Regions from separate parts of the Homo sapiens genome. Here regions 2 and 3 are each linked to region 1. Evidence: promoter capture Hi-C in 16 types of primary human blood cells and fetal thymus (Javierre and others, 2016). All regions are on one chromosome and are shown on one strand. The core of a region is centred on a gene start or on the middle of the fragment in contact, and the rest is flanking DNA. Distances in the headings are between cores, read along the strand shown.

Region 1 (2,700 bases), core at 113-2,612:
TTGCGAAAAGTAAATTAAATCAAACATGCAAAAGCACTTGGTCAAGATTTAAACACTAAATGAATGTCAACAAGTATTGTTATTAAGGGCTCCCTACTCATCTGCAAAGCTTTGAGGGACAATGACCATATGAGTTTAATCACCCCTCACGTCTTTATAGGGCTTTAGAGTTCATGATACACTTCTAAACACACTATCTTAGTGCCTCAAGCGCTGGGTTAGTACTTCTCCCCTGTTCACAGAGGCCCTAATATTAGGCTGAACTACATGAAGTTGCCGCTTTATAGAACAAAAATGGTCTAAATATTGGCAATTTCATATGGTTCAAGCTAATACAGTTCTAAGGAAATTGTACATAATTATAAACAACATAGCTGGCTGACTTTAGAACTCAGGCTTTCTGATTCCTGGCTAGTCTAGGACTCTTCATGACTAAAAGGAGACTCATTTTTGATTCAGAAAGCAAGGAGTCAAAGGAGGTTCTGTGTCAAATCACACTGGGCTGTTTGTTCTGCTGGAACAGGTATTTTAAAAAATGTGATCCCTTACTGGATTCTCACAGTACTGTCCCCGAGGGTAACAGGATGGTAAAGAATACATTCAGAGGGCACCTACCGTATGCTAAAGCATATCTCATAATCATTTCATTTGATCCTCCCAATTACATATCATGACTCCCAGTTTAAATATGAGCAGTCTGAGGCTCAGACAAGTTAAGTGTCTTGCCCAAGGTCACATTGCTATTAACTGGTAGGGCGAGCAAATGCAGAAGGAAAACCCAGAACTGTCCAACTCTAAAACCTGGCCCATTTAAGTCAACCTGCTTCTCGGGAAGTTTTACAACTATCCCCATGTGGAAGAAGGGATGAAACGACTCGCCCAAGGTCACACGGCTAGCAAGCCATAGAACAAGAGTCCCTGACCTCAGGTCTCGTCCGTAGCCGCTCTTGTTCTAGTTACTGTCGATGAGATCCTGAAAAGGAGGGAACGGAAGAAGGAATCTAAATGTAAATCAAACGCAATGTGGTAGGCGAAATCGGTGCCCTCACAGCATCCGGCAAAAGGTGAAAGCGACCCAGGAGTACCTGAGCTCCAGGTAACCGCCCTGCCCGCTGGGCTTGGGACAAGCCGGCGGGCGAGGTGCCTCCCAGGCCAACAAGAGACCCTGGCCCAGGGGACAGTCTTCTGTTCCCTTTTCCCTTGCCGGACCTGCAGCTTTCCCAGGGCCCGCTCCTTCAATCCACTCCCCTCTCCGCCCCAGAGAGACCCGGTCTCTAAGCCTCACCCTGGCTGTGCCCCCGCCGCCGCTACCACGTCCCCTTCGATATCCACATCCGCCTCTTCAGCCGCCATGATGGGACCTGACCCCGTCCGTCCTCCCGAGAGATCCCGCGAGACGAAGATGGCCCGGGGGCAGGGCCTAACGCGTCACGGGGCGGGATTGAAGCGTCGTCCGGCCCCTCCCGTGCCGGGAGGCGGGGTTTCCAGAGCAAAGGCGCCCCCAGAGGCCTGGGGCTTGGTCCTTTCTAACTTGTTGACATGTAGAGACCTTGGGAAGTGGCCCACGCCTGAGCTTTTTTTTTTTGAGAGGGAGTTTCACTCTTGTTGCCCAGGCTTGGGTGCAATGGCGCGTATCTCAGCTCACTGCAACCTCCACCTCCCGGGTTCAAGCGATTCTCCTGCCTCAGCCTCCCAAGTAGCTGGGATTACAGGCATGCGCCACCACGCCCGGCTAATTTTTGTATTTTTAGTAGATACAGGGTTTCACCATGTTGCCCAGCTGGTCTCGAACTCCCGACCTCCCGACCTCAGGTGATCCGCCCGCCTCGGCCTCCCAAAGCTCTGAGATTACAGGCGTGAGCCACCGCGCCCGGGCCCTCCTGAGCTTCTAAGAGCTTCTGTTCTTGCACACATTCTTTGGGACCTCACTGCTCTCACTGATAAAATGGGGATAACAGCAGTATCTTTCTGGACTGATGAAAAAGTCAAGCTAGACCCGCTTTGTGAACTGAAGGTTGCATACCTGCTGGTTATTTAAGTCTCTCTCTTTGTTTTTTAAAGAAAAGGGTCGTGCAGCACTTATGTGAAGTCGTTCAGCATTTCACCTAAGTGCTGAACAACTTTTATTTTAAAATTCAACAAATATTTAAGAATATAACTTATGATTGTGTAATTTATTTTGTAGACGTCTTTGCAATTTAAAAATCACGCTCATGACCATTAATCCTTACAGTGTCCCAGTGAGGTAGGCAGAGCTAATATCACCAGTTATACTTTACAGGTGAGGTAACTGAGGCCTGGAGAGCTGAAATGACTGTCCAAGGACAGGTAGCTTCAAAGACAGAGCCAGGAGTAGAATCCAGGCTTTGTTGACCCTCTACTGAGTGCTCACCATGTAACAATCATGTTGTTAGAAATTGGAGGATAAACACCACTTCTGTCTAGTTTATAGTTTCTCAAGAAATTAGATACTGACAGCCAGATGCGGTGGCTCACACCTGTAATCCCAGCACTTTGGGAGGCCAGGGAGGGCGGATCACAAGGTCAGGAGTTCGAGACCAGCCTGACCAACATGGTGAAACCCCGTTTCTACTAAAAATACAAAAATTAGCTGGGCGTAGTGGTGGGCAACTGTAGTCCCAGCTACTCAGGAGGCTGAGGCACAAGAATCGCTTGAACCCAGGAGGCAGAGGTTGCAGT
Region 2 (2,700 bases), core at 199-2,698, 620 kb after region 1:
TTGAGATGTTTTGTGACTGTCTTTGCAGATCCACTTGGTCTTCATATGGTTTTTACACTTGCTTACTATAGGTGGAGGAACTGCAATGTCTGGTGGAGAACAGAAACCAGAGAGGTACTATGTGGGTGTGGACGTTGGAACAGGCAGTGTCCGTGCAGCTCTGGTGGACCAGAGTGGGGTCCTGTTGGCTTTTGCAGACCAGCCAATTAAGAATTGGGAGCCCCAGTTCAACCACCATGAGCAGTCCTCCGAGGACATCTGGGCTGCGTGCTGTGTTGTCACAAAGGTATGGGCAAAACTGGTGTTCTCTCCTTGTTCATATTCCTACCTGCTGAGTGTCGTGTGTCAATCTGGTGCCGTAAACAATGTTGGGGTAACTTTAGATGCAGAGGTAAGCAAGACATAGGCCTTGCCCTTCAGGAGCTCACAGTCTACTGGCAGAGACTGATAAACAGCTAATATATGGTAAGAGCTGGGATCAAAGTAACTATAGCTGGAGCTGGGGAAAGAGCTAACCGGAGGGGGCTCAGGGAAGACAGGACAGCTTGAGGTGTGACCACATGTGGAAGAATTCACTGATCACCTTATTAACATTTACCACGCCTTTAATGTGTGCCAAAGGCTGTGTAAAATGTGTTAACTTGCACTGTGTAGTTGCATCTTCACATGACCCTATAAAGGTAATACTGTCACTACCCCTATTTTATTGAGGGAGAAATGTAGGCACAGAAAAGTTAGGTAACTTACTCAAGTTCACACAGTAAGTAGCAGAGGCAGGACTAGAACAAAGCAGTCTGACTCCAGAGGTGCGCTCTTTTTTTTTTTTTTTTTTAATTAAAAAAAGTTCAATGGGTTTTTGGGGAACAGGTGGTGTTTGGTTACGTAAGTTCTTTAGTGGTGATTTCTGAGATTTTGGTGCACTCATCACCCAAGCAGTGTACACTGTACCCAATGTGTAGTCTTTTATTCCTCACCACCCCCCAGCGCTTTCCTCCGAGTTCCCAAAGTCCAATTGTATCATTCCTATACCTTTGCCTCCGAGGTGCACTCTTAACCATTGGACTCTGCTGCCTTCCAAGTGGACAAATGAGGATGAGAGGAACTGCATTTTGGGCAGAGGGAATAGCATATGCAAAGGCATGGTGGCACGAAAACATGGTGTGTTCTGATAAAGCAAAGGAGTCAGATTAGAGTGTCTCCCATATATGCCAGGCATATGTTCACCCTGAGTGGCCTTGGATTGGATGCAGCCTGCTGGCTTGGGAAGGAAAGCAATGCTTCACAATTCTTGTTTGTTTTTAAAGTTTCACTTGACTGTTTGATTTTATGTCTTGGTGATCAGTAATGACAGAGGTCCTTTTGTCTTTTTTTCCATGGGGAAAAATAAAGTCCTGGATTCCTTCTTTTCCCTGTTCCTAGTTTAGTTCCTTAAATATTCATGAGGTGCTTGGTAATTTGCAGATGGACAATTCACCATTCTGTCCCTATTGATCAGTCTGTTTAAACTTTAATGAATTCTGGGCTGCTGTTAGTGCCCCCGGAGAAGAAGGCAGAGAGAGGAGGGAGTGGGTAGGCAGTACCAGAGCATTATACAGGAATAAAAGAGGGATGCATCTTCTCTTTTGCCCATTTAATTTTCCTCTCCTCTCCCCTCCTTTCAGCCCCCAATCTGGTAAGAATCTTCTACTCTTTGCACTTGGGCCTTCTTTCTTCTTTTAACATACAGCCTTGCTTGCCGTTAAGGAAATTATCAAGAAGAAAATATAATCCCCTGATGAAAAGCTACTTTAAAAAAGGTCTACTCTAAGTACAGCTGGTTTAATGGTAGATTTTTAATCATCTCCCAGTGGTGGCCAACTTATCATCTGTTTGAGCCCTGTTAGCTGCATAAGTACCATGGACATCTGTCGATAGCAATGCTATTGCACTATAGCAAACCTAAATGAAGCCCTTGGGTCTTAGGCGATTCTCCTCAGATGGAGTATGGATATGTGGGCATGTGCCAGAAGCCACAGGATAAGCATGTTACATCTATATGGAACATCATTGCTGGTGTGAGGCTTAGGGAGGGAAGCATTTTTATGTTAGAGAGATAATAACACCATAGGAATGAGAGAGGTAGGTGACCTGTTATAGAGCACAGATTCTGCAGCCAGACTGCCTAGATTGACATCCCACTTACAACGTTTATTAGGTTGTGATCTTGGACAAGTTACCTAATGTTTCTTGCTTCAGTTTCCTTATCTGTAAAATGGAAATGACATTAGTACCTACTTCCATAGGATTGTTGTGAGGATTAAATGAATTAATGCACATAGGATGTCATAACATTGCCTAGAAATGTGTATGGGTTGTTTCCTATGGTGGTGCTGATGGTGACAGAAAATGAGCAGATTATAGAAGATAGTGAATTTCTAAGACAAAATACTGAAAAGTCAAAGTCTACGGCGGGGGAGGCGCTTCTTGGGAATATTCATTCACTCTCCTGGTTAGGGTTCTTACTGTGTAACACTTTGAGAAACACTGGTCTAGGGCAAAGGGTGGCATCAGATATGTCCTGGTCTGTCTTTTCTTCCTCATGGACTCCAGGAAGTTGAGAGCTTCAGAGCAGTTGTTCTAATTCCTTTTCCCTAAGTCATTCACATTGCCTGAGATGACTTTCCTCTTAGTTAAAGCAACAGTAAGGATAATGTGGTGTCA
Region 3 (2,700 bases), core at 128-2,627, 710 kb after region 1:
AGCACCTTGTACAATAATTTCTGCATTGTAGGGGCTTAGTGGTATTTACTGAATTGAACTAAAACTTACATCATCTCACTAGTAAACATCGAATGAGCATAAAATAAGATTTTTTTTTAGAGATGGATGGGGAAGGTGTGAGTCTATAAGTCCAGGCTAACCTGTCCCATGGAATGTTAGATACCTACTCAGGAAGGTAACTTGTATGAACCTCCCACCTTTAGCCTACCCCCCAGTCGACCTTAGTCATTTGCCCCACTTGGTTGGTTGGCTAGAGGAGTGGTAGAAATTTGGTGTGGGAAACACTTTGAGACTGCTCCTCATGTCACACAGTGAGGATGACCTGCTCTGCTCTCTGGTGCTATGTTACGATGATCTCCCGTTAGGCTAAATTATTCTACTTCTTAGTGCTTTTTCCCCTAGCTTTTTTTTTTTTCTTTTTGAAATCTGATATTTAGAGTCCTCTTCCCCACTTAATTGCAAGCTCAATGAAGAAAAACTAGAGAACAATAAGATAGAAAAGAAGACAAAAATGTAGTGAAACAAAAAGCATTCTATCTCCTATTTTCCAGGAACAAATGTTTTTTAAAAAGCTTTTTTAAGCCTGTTAATAGACAGTTGATTCTTCATTATTTGCAGATTCTTTGTTTGCAAATTTGCCTACTTACTAAATCTTATTTGTAACCCTCAAATCAATACTTGTGGCACTTTCACAGTCATTCGCAGAAATGCTCAGAGAGGAGGATAATTTCTGAGTCTCTCGTCATGCGTGTTCCTAGCCGATGGCAAATAACACAACACCCTGCCTTCTTGTTTCAGCTCTCATAGTGTAAACAAGTGTCCTTTTCGAAGTCTACTCGTGCCATGTTTTTCTCATTTTTGTGCTTTTTGTTGGCGATTTCACCATTTAAAATGCACCCCAAGCATTGTGCAAAAGTACTGTGTAGTGTTCAAGTACAGTGCAAGAAAGCTGCGATGTGCCTTACAGAGACAATAACGTGTGTTTGATAAGCTTCATTCAGGCAGGAGTTAAGTGCTGTTGGCTGTAAGTTCAGTGTTATTGACTCAACAATATATATTAAATGAGTTGTTTTTAAGCAAGAATACACATGAAACAGGGTTGCGTATTGATGAGTTGGCAAAAATATAACTGGAGGCTCAGAGGAACCTAGCCCTGTATTTCCCTTAGGAACAATGGTCCAGTGTTCCCTAATTTAATGTTTTTGGAGACTACCAAAAATAATAAGGTCAGCCATGTATCTTTCTCCTTTTCTCCTTGCTCTTGCTTGATCTTTCCATCTCTTGTTACCTCAATCTGTGTGTATATGATATGCATATATTTACTTAAATTATATATGCATATATTTAGCAATTATGATATCACATGATACACGATTCTGCAACCTGTCTTTTAACTTATCAATTGTGTTGGCCTTTGGGCTGTTTGCACTGAGATCCATTTGTCACCCTTGCCCTGCTCTGCAAGGGTGCTGTGTTACAGGGGGTTGACCCCTGCCCCCTGACAATTTGTCATCAGTGGGAGATGGCAAGGCAAGAGAAAGAGAAGCTGGAGTATTTGTCCCTCCCTCTGTCTGCCTTGGGCAGCATCTCTGGCAGTGGCCCCTCTACAGCTATCCCACCTGCAGGTTGGGTCCTCCATGGCTCTGTCATCGGCTGGTTGGTCCTGGGTCTCGAGCTTTAGCCCTGCCTTCTTCCTTTGTCCTTTTAGCTGATGGGTGGAAGAAGCTTCCTGCTGATGCTGATCTCTGAGTTTCTTCCCTGTCCCCTGGGTAGAGCATCAGATTTAAAAGCCAAGGCAAGACAAAAAATGAGAGAATGGTAGCAAAGATCCAACACTTTACAAGACCGCCTGAGAAAAGGGAGGAGGGGGTGGTTCGACACCAGGGCCTGCACACTGAGTGTGTGATGTTGCAGCTCTGCAGGCACAGATTAAGCAGCTAAGATGCCATCAATGCTTGGAAAGCAGCCGGTGCCTCTTGTCCTGAGCTTATTTGTCTGGAATATGATTCCCTTGAACCTGACTAGCTCATCCACGGGGAGAGAGAAAAAAAAATATTCTGATAGTTATCCTGACCAGGCTCTAACAGGGCCTCCTTCCCTAGGATATAATTTTTTCTGGCCTCTTTCCATTCACTTCTTCACATTAGGACCCTTTTCCCCCAGAGTGTGAGATTCCCTGAGGGCTCTAAAAACTGGAATGCTATACAGCATTTTAAGCCCCCTGTGTTGGCACAGTCCTTATTAAAAATGTATTTTCCTCAAGCCATGGCTGCACCCCCTGAAGTGTGGATTAACAGAAAGGCCTTCAGAGCTGGAAGACATTTTTGAAGAACCGCTGTACCAAGTGGCATTAAATATTTATTGCCTACTACATGTAAATTGTTCATCATCTTGTTTTAACTCTTGGACCAAAAGGTTTCTCATCTGCTTTCTGCTAAAGTGGAAATCACAGGAAAGGTACTCTTTACTTTGCTGTGGTATTTTGTTTTCCCAGGAATACGGAATATTTCTTTGTTCTCATAAGTAATACTAGAAAAGATTGCCTTGACTCTCAGCATTTCATTGGGAGGCCATGTGGTGTCATGATGGAGAAAAACTCGAATTCTGGGGCAAGTGCATTGGGCTTTGCCACCTGCAAGCTGTGTTGGCTTGAGAACCTGATACCATTTATGTTTGTTG

Evidence for each region. The method cuts DNA at HindIII sites, captures the fragments that hold promoters and counts their contacts. A CHiCAGO score of 5 or more calls a contact.
Region 2: a fragment that was not itself captured here is called in contact with the fragment with the promoter of MYSM1 in region 1 in 2 of 17 cell types (naive CD8 T cells and naive B cells); the score reaches 5.5 in naive CD8 T cells.
Region 3: a contact is called between a fragment that was not itself captured here and the fragment with the promoter of MYSM1 in region 1, in 1 of 17 cell types (monocytes). The highest score is 5.0, in monocytes.

What each region holds. Positions count from the first base shown.
Region 1 is chr1:58,698,700-58,701,399 of GRCh38, forward strand. It overlaps MYSM1 (Myb like, SWIRM and MPN domains 1), which reads right to left and starts at 1,363. Exons shown (of 20, transcript NM_001085487.3): 1 at 1,286-1,363. The coding sequence starts at 1,353. RefSeq lists enhancers at 858-917, 1,128-1,537. The HindIII fragment of the contact is 3,791 bases long and covers 108-2,700 here.
Region 2 is chr1:59,321,465-59,324,164 of GRCh38, forward strand. FGGY (FGGY carbohydrate kinase domain containing) reads left to right here. Exons shown (of 16, transcript NM_018291.5): 2 at 72-286. The coding sequence starts at 86. Among named protein-coding and RNA genes, the nearest start is that of FGGY, 26 kb to the left of the region's middle. The HindIII fragment of the contact is 4,306 bases long and covers 1-2,700 here.
Region 3 is chr1:59,405,494-59,408,193 of GRCh38, forward strand. The region is part of intron 5 of FGGY (FGGY carbohydrate kinase domain containing); the gene reads left to right. Among named protein-coding and RNA genes, the nearest start is that of FGGY, 110 kb to the left of the region's middle. The HindIII fragment of the contact is 734 bases long and covers 1,011-1,744 here.